2 separate regions of the Homo sapiens genome follow, and region 1 is linked to region 2. Evidence: promoter capture Hi-C in 16 types of primary human blood cells and fetal thymus (Javierre and others, 2016). All regions are on one chromosome and are shown on one strand. Each heading gives the region's core, a stretch centred on a gene start or on the middle of the fragment in contact. The rest is flanking DNA. Distances are from core to core; before and after follow the strand shown. Region 1 holds the start of AKR1A1 (aldo-keto reductase family 1 member A1). Region 2 holds the start of MUTYH (mutY DNA glycosylase).

Region 1 (5,109 bases), core at 773-3,272, 210 kb before region 2:
CAGCTGACCATCACTCTTTACTTAAACCACAGATCTTGGCTTCCAGAGTGGTCCCTCTTCCCGCAGTCCATCACCAGATCCAACCATGTGACTCCCAGTCTCAAACCCTTCCAGCAATTCTCCCCTATATTCAGGATAAAGTCCAGGCTTCTCAAAACCTGGCTTCTATCTTTCTCATTTCACCACCTCCTCATGTCAGACTGTATTCCAGACTTTGAACACTCAACAGGGTCACATCACTTACCTGACTCTAGGTGTGTGCACTTTCCTTCCCCAAACCCTACCTTTGCCTGGCTAGCTGCTGCTCATCCTTCAGCTAGCACTTCACATTTCTGGCTCCTTTCCAGGTGCAGTGGCTCATACATGTAATCTCAGCACCTGGGCAGGCTGAGGCGGGAGGATCACTTGAAACCTGGGCAACAAAAGGAAACACTGTCTCTACAAAAATTTGTTTTTTTCTTTCTGAGTCTGCTTGCTAGGGGGAATTTTTTTTTTTTTATTTTAAAGATTAACTGGGCACAGTGGCATGTAGTTTATAGTCCAAAGGCTGAGGTGGCAGGATTATTTGAGCCCAGAAGTTTGAGGCTGCACTGAGCAAGGATTCCACCACTACACTCCAGCATGGGCAAAAGACCGAGAGACCCCCATCCATCTCTAAAAAGAAAATAAATAAATAAATAAATGGATGGCTACTTCCATGTACTGATAGCATGTGCACATCACTACATTTTTCTGTTTATATATAAATTTCCCCCACAAACCTGGCTACTCCTTGAGGTCTGAGCCTGTCATCTGCCTGAACCCCTCACTCCTAGAGTACCTGTCCCATACATACATACATACATACATACATACATACATACATACAATGTACACAATACACACACCACACACACACAGCTTATGGGGGAGAGATCTTGACAGGTTGAGTTTGGCCAGCTGGAAGGACATTTGAGGAAGTCGCTGCCTCTGTCACCTTCTTCCTTTACCTGTTGGAAAACCTGAAAAGAATCCTCTTGGAGAATATCAAAGCACTTTACTATACTCGGCAAAAAATCCCAGTGGACCAGATAGAATCATACTGAGATTGCTCCTGTATTAAAGATAAGGAAACAGATCTTGGAAAAGTAACAGGCCTGCAGCCCTGAGTATGAACGATCTGAAGGGGAAGAGTTAATTAACAGTAGCCTCATCCAGTGAAGGTTCAGATCTGTGTCTTACTTTAACAGAGTTCTGGGGCAACAGAATAACATGTCAGACTTTCTCAGACCCAAAGCAGGTGTCTAAGTAAGAGAATTATCCCCACTTCTCCCCACTTCTGAGAACTATCCCTGCACCTGCATAAGAAAGCCGGAGCAGCTGGAAAAAGCACATAGGTGAGCAAACAAAAAGATGGCAATTAAAACTTGCAGATCACCTAGTATGCGCTGTGCGCCTTCAAAGCTTTATCTCAATTCTTGCTACAGTTCTAATGTAGGACCTCATTTTATTGCTGAGGAAACAGGTTCAGAGAAACTGGGAAGTTAGCAAGAGATCATACAGAGAAAAAGAAGAGCTCAAATCCGAAACCAAGTCTCGTCCCCTCCAGTGCTCTGCGCTCTCCACTCAACCCCAGGGGCTTACATTTCAGTAGTAAAGAATCGAGGCCATCTCCTCCGGGAGAAAGATAGGCCAGCAGCAAGAGAAACTCACCTTGGCACAAGCACAGAGCGTGAATAGGGTACTGTGGCCTGGGCTCAGTTCTGCACCCCGCCAGAGATCCAACGATCCTCAGCTTAAGTCTGGCGGTGAGGGGGAAGTTCCACCCGGAGGGAGGGGCAGGGGCCGGGCATAAAGGATCACGCGCAGGGTGGACCGCCTTCGCCGCCTCCCGAGGAAGGACCTGAAGGGGATGGAAAACAGAGCTGGGAGGTAGTACCGTCTCCACCTCTGGATCCTCGAGGTCGAACTGGCCGGAACTTGGTCACTCACTCCGCAGCGCGGGTTTGGAGAACTCCTGGGCACAATGAGGCAGGTGGCGCTGGCCACGTGGGCGGTGCAAGGGGCGGGGCCAGCCTCGCCTTTTGCTGGCCCACATTGCACCGCGCGCCTAGGCGCCGCCGCAGGCGCTTTTCCGGGGGAAGTAAGGTAGCAGATGCCACGTTGCAGGTTCTTCTGGTGTCGGCCCTCCGGATTCACAATGCCATCCGTGGCTCCATACTCTCCCTAAAGTCAGGTTGGCTGGATTCCCAAAGTTCACCTAAGTTGGCCCCGTTACATTTAGTTCAAGCAAACTGAGGCCCAGAGAGCAGCTGCAACACCAAGATTGGCCAGAATACAGAAGACCTCGCGTCTGCAGATCCAGGCGCTGGAAAGTGCCTGGTCCCCCTGTCTGGACCATAGACCCCGCCCAGCACGTTATGTGCCAGGCACTGTGCTTAACACTTAATAAACATGGTTTTATTGAATCTTCATAATAATCCTGGAAAAGGAATATTCCTTTTTTTTTTTTTTTTTTGAGACGGAATCTCGCTCTCGCCCAGGCTGGAGTGCAGTGGCGCGATCTTGGCTCACTGCAACCTCCGCCTCCCTGGTTCAAGCAATTCTCTGCCTCAGCCTCCCGAGTAGCTGGGATTACAGGCGCCCGATACCACGCCTGGCTAATTTTTTTGTATTTTTTAGTAGAGACGGGGTTTCGCCATCTTGGCCAGGCTGGTCTTGAACTCCTGACCTCGTGATCCACCCGCCCTGGACTCCCAAAGTGCTGGGATTACAGGAGTGAGCCACTGCGCCTGGCCGAAAAGGAATATTCTTTTATTTCGTACAAGCCTTTTTAAAAATCGTAGTATAGCATATATACAGAAAATACACCAGTCTTTTTTTTTTTCTTTTTCTTTTTTTCCTATTCTACATCCAGGAAGAAAGAAAATGTATAAATCTTAAATGTATACAGTTCTTTTTTTTAAATTATTTTTTGCAATGTAACTGCCATCCAGAGGAAGATATTACCAGCACACCATAAGCCTGTGAGGAAAGTATTCATAATCCATTTTACAGATTGGACAGACTCAGCAAGGTTAAGGCTATTTATAATTTTCCCAAAGTCACACAGGTATTAATTAAATGACACATCTGCGATTTGAAATAGTCTGTGCTGTTTGAGTGGAGAGGTGTCTTGCATGTATGTGTTTTCCTTGGCAGGGATGGGCAAGACACAGGGTTATCTCGGTTTGGCTCTGCTTTTCCCCACACCTTTACTCCCTGAGAGCAACTCTTCCCATTTCCCCACCCCCGTTATCCCCCACTGTCTCCCCAACATAAGTGATGTCCTGGTGGACCAAATGTCTAATGTATCAGGCCATCCTCATAAAAACAATCAGACTTGGCCGGGTGCGGTGGCTCACGCCTGTAATTCCAGCACTCTGGGAGGCCGAGGCAGGCGGATCACCTGAGGTCAGGAGTTAGAGACCAGCCTGACCAACATGGAGAATCCCCGTCTCTATTAAAAATACAAAATTAGCCGGGCGTGGTGGCACATGCCTGTAATCCCAGCTACTCGGGAGGCTGAGGCAGGAGAATTGCTTGAACCTGGGAGGCGGAGGTTGTGGTGAGCTGAGATTGCGCCATTGCGCTCCAGCCTGGGCAACAAGAGTGAAACTCCATCTCAAAAAAAAAAAAAAAAAAAATTCAGCTAGGCGTCGTGGCGCGCACCTGTAGTCCCAGATACTCAGGACGCTGAGGCAGGAGAATCGCTTGAACCCGGGAGGCGGAGGTTTCAGTGAGCCGAGATCGAGCCACTGCACTCTAGCCTCTTGACAAAGCGAGACTGCCCCTCAAAAAAAAAAAAAAAAAAAAAAAAAAAAAAAAATTAGCTGGATGTATTGATGCGAGCCTGTAATCCCAGCTACTTGGGAGCCTGAGGCAACAGAATCACTTGAACCAGGGAGGCGGAGGTTGCAGTGAGCTGAGATCGCGCCACTGCACTCCAGCCTGTATTCAAAAAAAAATAAAATAGGCCAGGCATGGTGGCTCACGCCTGTAATCCCAGCACTTTGGGAGGCCGAGGTAGGCAGATCACCTGAGGTGAGGAGTTCGAGACCAGCCTGACCAACATGGAGAACCCCCATCTCTACTAAAAATACAAAATTAGCCAGGTGAGGTGGCACATCCCTGTAATCCCAGCTACTCAGGAGGCTGAGGCAGAAGAATCACTTGAACCCAGGAGGCAGAGGTTGCGTTTGGCAAGATTGTGCCATTGCACTCTAGCCTGGGCAGCAAGAGCAAAACTCTGTCTCAAAAAAAAAGGGGCCGGGCGCAGTAGCTCACGCCTGTAATCCCAGCACAAGGCGGGCAGATCACGAGGTCAAGAGTTCGAGACCAGCCTGGCCAATATGGTGAAACCCCGTCTTTACTAAAAATACAAAAATTAGCTGGGCATGGTGGCACGCGCCTGCAGTCCCAGCTACTCAGGAGGTTGAGGGAGGAGAATCGCCTGAACCCAGGAGGCAGAGGTTGCAGTGAGCCGCACCACTACACTCCAGCCTGGGTGACAGAGCAAGTCTCCGTCTCAAAAAAAAAAAAATACGTAAAAGAAGAACCTACAGGCCAGGCACAGTAGCTCATGGCTGTAATCCCGGCACTGTGGAAGACTAAGAAGGGAGGATCACTTGAGCCTAGTAGTTCAAGACCAGCCTGGGCAATATAGTGAAACCTCATCTCTACAAAAAATATAAAAATTAGCTGGGCACGGTGGTGCACACCTATAGTCCCAGGTGTTTAGGAGACTGAAGTGGGAGGATTGCTGGAGCCCAGGTCTTCGAGGCTGTAGTGTGTCATGATTGTGCCATTCTACTCCAGCCTAGACAACAGAGCAAAACCTTGTCTCTTTTTTTTTTTCCCCTCAAATTCTTTTTACCAAGGACCCTGTCTAAAAACAAACAGGCCAGGTGTGGTGGCTCACACCCGTAATCCCAGGACTTTGGGAGACCGAGGCGGGCCAATCACCTGAGGTCAGGAGTTCGAGGCCAGCCTGGCCAACATGGTGAAATCCCATCAATACTAAAAATACAAAAATTAGCTGGGCATGGTGGCAGGTGCCTGTAATCCCAGCTACTTGAGAGGCTGAGGCAG
Region 2 (5,580 bases), core at 479-2,978:
AAAAAAAAAAACTATCAAGTCAAAAAAAAAGATTTGGGAGAGAAATGCTTCCTATCTGATGTTCCCTAGAATCTCTCTACCCTCCACCCCACAGCCACACCTAGGATTGGGGTGAGATCAGCTCATACCTTGTCTGGCTGCCGCTTGAAGCAGGCGAGGCCCAGGGAAAGGATAGAACGGGTCCTGGCAGCATGACACACGGCCTTGTAACGTTCCTCAATGCACCTTGGGGTTGGGTATGGGGGTTGCTGTGGCTAGGAGTTAGCCTTATGAAGGACCCAAACCACCCAGGTCTGTGACCCCCCCACTCCACAGTTGAGGGCTGGCACTAAAGAGAAAAGGGCTTATACTTACTGGTTCAGCAAACTCTTCCTGTCCCCAAGCCCACTCAGCTCCTGTGGGTAGGTAAAGGGAGAGTTGTGACAGGCCTCTAGCACCAGCCCCTTCACAACCACCTGCCCTCCTTGTTTCCCAACTCTCACCGTGTCCACAGCCACGAAATTAGCTGTCTTTATGGCTAGCAGGAGGGATGGCCACATCTCCTTGAAGTTGTTGCTTTGCACATCCACTACGGGAACCTGGACTACTAGCTCCTCCCCAGATGTTGTGCTTTTGCTGACACCACCTGGGGGTTAGGAGGGTGATGGATGTTCATGCTTAAGGAAAGAGCCCAGGGGAACAGACACCAAGCTAGGCCACGGTGATGGTGGTAAGGGGGGTAGTTTCCATTGGTAGCTTTTCCCACAAGCCTTTGTAACCCACGTGTTCTACACACAGGCCTTGGAGTGGAGAATGCCCTGAATTTGGGGAGAGGAAGCCTGAGTCTTCTACTGGCTTGTATGAGCCTGGGTAAATTACTTCCCACCTCGCTTTCACAATCTGTAGAGGAGAAAGTTGGACTAGACGACCTTTGATTCTTTTTTCCCATGTCCTGCAGGAAACATTTTGTAGGGCTTGAGGATCTCAGCTCCCTTAATATCCCACAGGGATCCATACTACTGTTCTCATGGTGCCCCAGCGCCACAAGCAACAGCTCCCAGTAAGCCCCAGAGCCTGGCAGTGCCCCACACCAGAGCTCCCAATACGTCCTACCTTCCTTTGGATCACAACGCTCAATCCACTCCACTGAACTGAATCACAACTATTACTACTAACCGTTATGAGCTCCAGACTACATCTCCCGCCATGCCTCCATCAGCCCCATGCTCCCAACGCTCCAGGCTTTTGCAGCCGGAGCCGCGGTGTACAACGGAACTTGTAGTCTCCTCGTGGCTAGTTCAGGCGGAAGGAGCAGTCCTCTGAAGCTTGAGGAGCCTCTAGAACTATGAGCCCGAGGCCTTCCCCTCTCCCAGAGCGCAGAGGCTTTGAAGGCTACCTCTGGGAAGCCGCTCACCGTCGGAAGCTGCGGGAGCTGAAACTGCGCCATCGTCACTGTCGGCGGCCATGACACCGCTCGTCTCCCGCCTGAGTCGTCTGTGGGTACGCTGGACTTGCGGTCCGTCTCCTGGCGCGGTTCAGGCAGTCGGGGATGGGGCGGGGTCTCGCCGTCGGGTCGCCGATGGGTCGAACTTCCGTTCAGACGTCCCGGGTCCGGCGCGGGGAAGGCAGCCTGGCGCGCGCTAATTGCCTATTGGCCTGTGCTGCCGGCTCGCAGCCCGGGTGGACCCGAGCCACGCCCCCTGGAGTGCGCCGGAAAGCCGGGCGCGCTAGAGCTCGCGGGAGGTAATCTTTCTCTCCTGCTCTCGCGGCGGGAACGCGGGGCCTCCGTGTTCTGCTGTCTTCATCAGCGTGGGCCGCGGGTAGCGGGTAGTGGGGTGGCTGGGTTTGGGCTTTCCAGAGAAGGTGACGCTGCCTGAGCTGAGCTTAAAGCACGCCCAGGAGTTAGACTAGGAGAGGGTCGTGTGGGGGAAAGAAGGGCGTTCTGGGCATCGGTAAATTCCCAGAGAGGATGGAGAGCTCAGTGATCTCCAGAAAGTGAAAGAGGCGGGGAGTGGGCCATCGGAGGAGGCTGCCCAGGGTGTAAGAGCGACCGATTGGTAGGGAAGCTTTTGTAATAATCCAATCAAGTGATAATGTGAACTTGAATTAAGGCTGGCAGTATGGATGGCGAGGAAGGGACAAATTGTGAAGCAGCTAGGCGGTATAGTCGACCTAGAGGGTGATTGAATTTGAAAGAGGTTCCTAGGCCGGGCGCGGTGGCTCACGCCTGTAATCCCAGCACTTTGGGAGGCCGAGGCGGGCGGATTACCTGAGGTCCGGAGTTCAAAACCAGCCTGGCCAACATGGTGAAACCCCGTCTCTACTAAAAGTACAAAAAAAATTAGCTGGGTATGGTGCGGGCGCCTGTAATCCCACTACTTGGGAGGCTGAGGCAGGAGAATCGCTTGAACCTGGGAGGCAGAGGTTGCGGTGAGCCGAGATCACGCCATTTTGCACTTCAGCCTAGGCAACAAGAGCGAAACTCCGTCTCAAAAAAAAAAAAAAAAAAAAAATTCCTATTGGAGACTAGTCCCTCCGTAAACACTACGATTCCCATCCACCTCTGCCTTCCAGTGCTCCTTTGTTACTCATTGTTTATAGTTAATCTTCAGCTTCTCTCAACTGAGCCCATTTCATCATTATTCAGAACTGCTTGGGCCGGGCGCAGTGGCTTATGGCCTGTAATCATCTTAGGAGGCCAAGGTGGGAGGATCGCTTGACCCTAGGAGTTCAAGACTAGCCTGGGCAACATAGTGAAACCTTGTCTCTACAAAAAGAAAATTAAAAATTAGTTGGGCATGGTGGTGCGCACCTGTAGTCCCAGCTACAGGAGGCTGAGGTGAGAGGATGGCTTGAGCCCAGGAGGTCGAGGCTGCAGTGAGCCATGTTCTTATTGCACTCCAGCCTGAGTGGCAGAGCAGCAAAGTGAGGGACACACTGTCTCTAAAAACAAAACAAACAAACAAAAAAAAAACAAAAATAAAAAAACTCTTTGGATTTCTCCTATCCTAAAAAAGGGAAACTCTTTTGACTATCCCCCATCCCATTAATTCATTTAACAGGTATCTATTGTGTACAGTTTACCTGGCACTGACTTTGGACACACACCAATCAACAAGAGAATCAGTCCTTGCACTCAAGTCGTTTTTTACAGTCAAATTCAGGAAGTACACACTGATGGAAAGAATCAAAGTAATGTAAAATTACATTAGGTAAGAGCTACAAGGCAGAAATATGTGATAGGATAAGATGAGGGGACCTGATTTGGACATTTCAGTCAAGACTTGAAAAATGATAAGGTGTTAGGTAAAAGCATAAAAGAGTCCAAACAGAGGAAATGGATTGTGTGAGGCCCCAAGGTGGGCAGACACACTTGAGGTGTTTAAGCAACTAAATTCAGTCAACCTTGGCTAGAGCATAGTGAGGGGATGAGGCGGATGGTGCCCGGATCACTGGACCTGCAAGGCTGTAGTAAGAGGACTGCCTTCTAAGAGCAAGGGTGTGGCAGCCAAATCCCTCCAATGGCCTATAAGGTACTTTGTGACCCTCCTCTCCCCACCTCATCTGGTTTACTTCTCTGACCTCTTCTACCACTCAGTCCCATCTCATTCCATTCTAACCACATTGACCTACTTACTGTACCACAGACATACCAGGCACCCTCCTTGGGGCCTTTGCACTCACTTAGAATGCTTTGGGTCTACCTTGACCACAGTCTTTAAAATTGCAACATTAAACCCCACCTTGGCACTCTTTTTTTTCCCCTCTTGGTCTAATTTTTGCTTTTTATGCTAATATTTATCACCTAACATCTTATGGAATTTACTTATGTTCATTATTCCTTTTCTGTCCCCATTAGAATATAAGCTCCCTGAGGGCAGGAACTTTTGATGTTTTATTTACTGAAGTATGCCAAGTGCCTAAAACTGCTTGGCACATATTAGGGGGCTCTATAAATATTTGCTCAATCTTTTTTTTTCTTTAAGAGACAAGGTCTTGCTGAGCCCAGGGTGGAGTGCAGTGGCACAATCATAGCTCACTGCAGCCTCGACCTTCTGGGCTCAAGCTGTTCTTCACTTCAGCCTCCAGAGTAGCAGGATTACAGTGTTGAGCCACCACAACCAGCTTGCTCAAGAATTTAATGACCCATAGTAAAGGCCTACAGTATTTAAAAAAGAAAGAAAAAGGAAAAAAGGAAGGAAGGAAAGAGGGAGGGAGAAAAAAAGAGAAAAGAAAGAAAATAAAAGAATATAATGGGGTGTCACCAGGCGCCGTGGCTCATGCCTGTATCCCAGCACTTTGGGAGGCCGAGGCGGGTTGATTGCTTGAGCTCTGGAGGTGGAGACTAGCCTGGGCAACATGGTGAAACCCTGTCTCTAACAAAAATACAAAAATTAGCTGGATGTGGTGGTGGTGTGCGCCTGTGGTCCCAGCTGCTTGGAGTTGGGGTGGGGTATTGGGGTGGGAGGATTGCTTGAGCCGAGGAAGCAGAGGTTGCAGTGAGCCAAGATCACACCACTGCACTCCAGCCTGGGTGACAGAGTGAGACCCCATCCCAAAAAAAAAAAAAAGAATGGGAAACCATTGAAGGTTATAAGGAAGGAAGTGACGTGATCTGGAAAAGATTCCTTTGCTCTTTGGAGAATAGATTGTAGAATGAATGTGGAAGTAAGCAGGTTTGGTGAAGGAAGTTTGGCTATGAAGGGAAGGAGGGTGGGATTTGATTGTGTTACGAGCCAAGGGGAAAATCTTTCCCTTTGCCCTCTGAAGATCTGCTGAAAAATCAGCTCACAAAAGGCAGGTTAACTGGAGAAAAGGCATACAAATTTATTAACATGCACATTGGGAGAACCATAAAGTGATTACCCATCTCCCTACAGAGTTCGTGAGTTTATATACCATCTGGCAAAACAGATTATGGGAGGGGTGTCTCACGTGTGTCCATGTGAAGAGACCACCAAACAGGCTTTGTCTGAGCAACAAGGCTGTTTATTTCACCTGGGTGCAGACAGGCTGAGTCTGAAAAAAAGGAGTCAGCAAAGGGTGGTGGAATTATCATTAGTTCTTATAGGTTTTGGGATAGGCATTGGAGTTAAGAGCAATGTTTTGGGGGCAGGGGGTGGATCTCACAAAGTACATTCTCAAGGGTGGGGAGATTATAAAGAACCTTCTTAAGGGTGGGGGGGAGATTACCAAGTACATTGATCAGTTAGCGTGGGGCAGAAACAAATCACAGTGGTGGAATGTGATCAGTTAAGGCTATTTTCACTTCTTTTGTAGATCTTCAGTTGCTTCAGGCCATCTGGATGTATAAGTGCAGGTTACTGAGGATATGATGGCTTAGCTTGGGCTCAGAGGCCTGACAAGGGGTAGAAGAGAAATTCTGTTTTTCTGTTTTTGTAGAGACGGGGTCTTGCTATGTTGCAAGCCTAATCTCGAACTCCTGGGCTCAAGTAATCCTCCTGCCTTGGCCTCCCAAAGTGCTGGGATTACAGGCCTGAGCCAGCATGTCCAGCTCTATTTGTTTTTAAATAAACCGAACTTTGGCCAGAAGGAGATTCTGTTGAAGGGCAATAAAGGATTACTAGAGAGAATGGAATG

What was found. Contacts are between HindIII fragments. The CHiCAGO score rates a contact against its expected background, and 5 or more counts as called.
Region 1: a contact is called between the fragment with the promoter of AKR1A1 here and the fragment with the promoter of MUTYH in region 2, in 13 of 17 cell types (naive B cells, naive CD4 T cells, total B cells and 10 more). The highest score is 8.6, in naive B cells.

What each region holds. Positions count from the first base shown.
Region 1 is chr1:45,547,739-45,552,847 of GRCh38, reverse strand. AKR1A1 (aldo-keto reductase family 1 member A1) reads right to left here and starts at 2,022. Exons shown (of 9, transcript NM_153326.3): 1 at 1,693-2,022. RefSeq lists enhancers at 1,550-1,769, 2,000-2,229, 2,280-2,339. The HindIII fragment of the contact is 4,529 bases long and covers 1,446-5,109 here.
Region 2 is chr1:45,336,118-45,341,697 of GRCh38, reverse strand. MUTYH (mutY DNA glycosylase) reads left to right here and starts at 1,728. Exons shown (of 16, transcript NM_001048174.2): 1 at 1,728-1,799. TOE1 (target of EGR1, exonuclease) reads right to left here and starts at 1,528. Exons shown (of 8, transcript NM_025077.4): 1 at 1,394-1,528; 2 at 483-625; 3 at 355-395; 4 at 129-225. The coding sequence starts at 1,445. RefSeq lists enhancers at 203-869, 1,168-1,517, 870-1,538, 1,539-2,206. The HindIII fragment of the contact is 741 bases long and covers 1,307-2,047 here.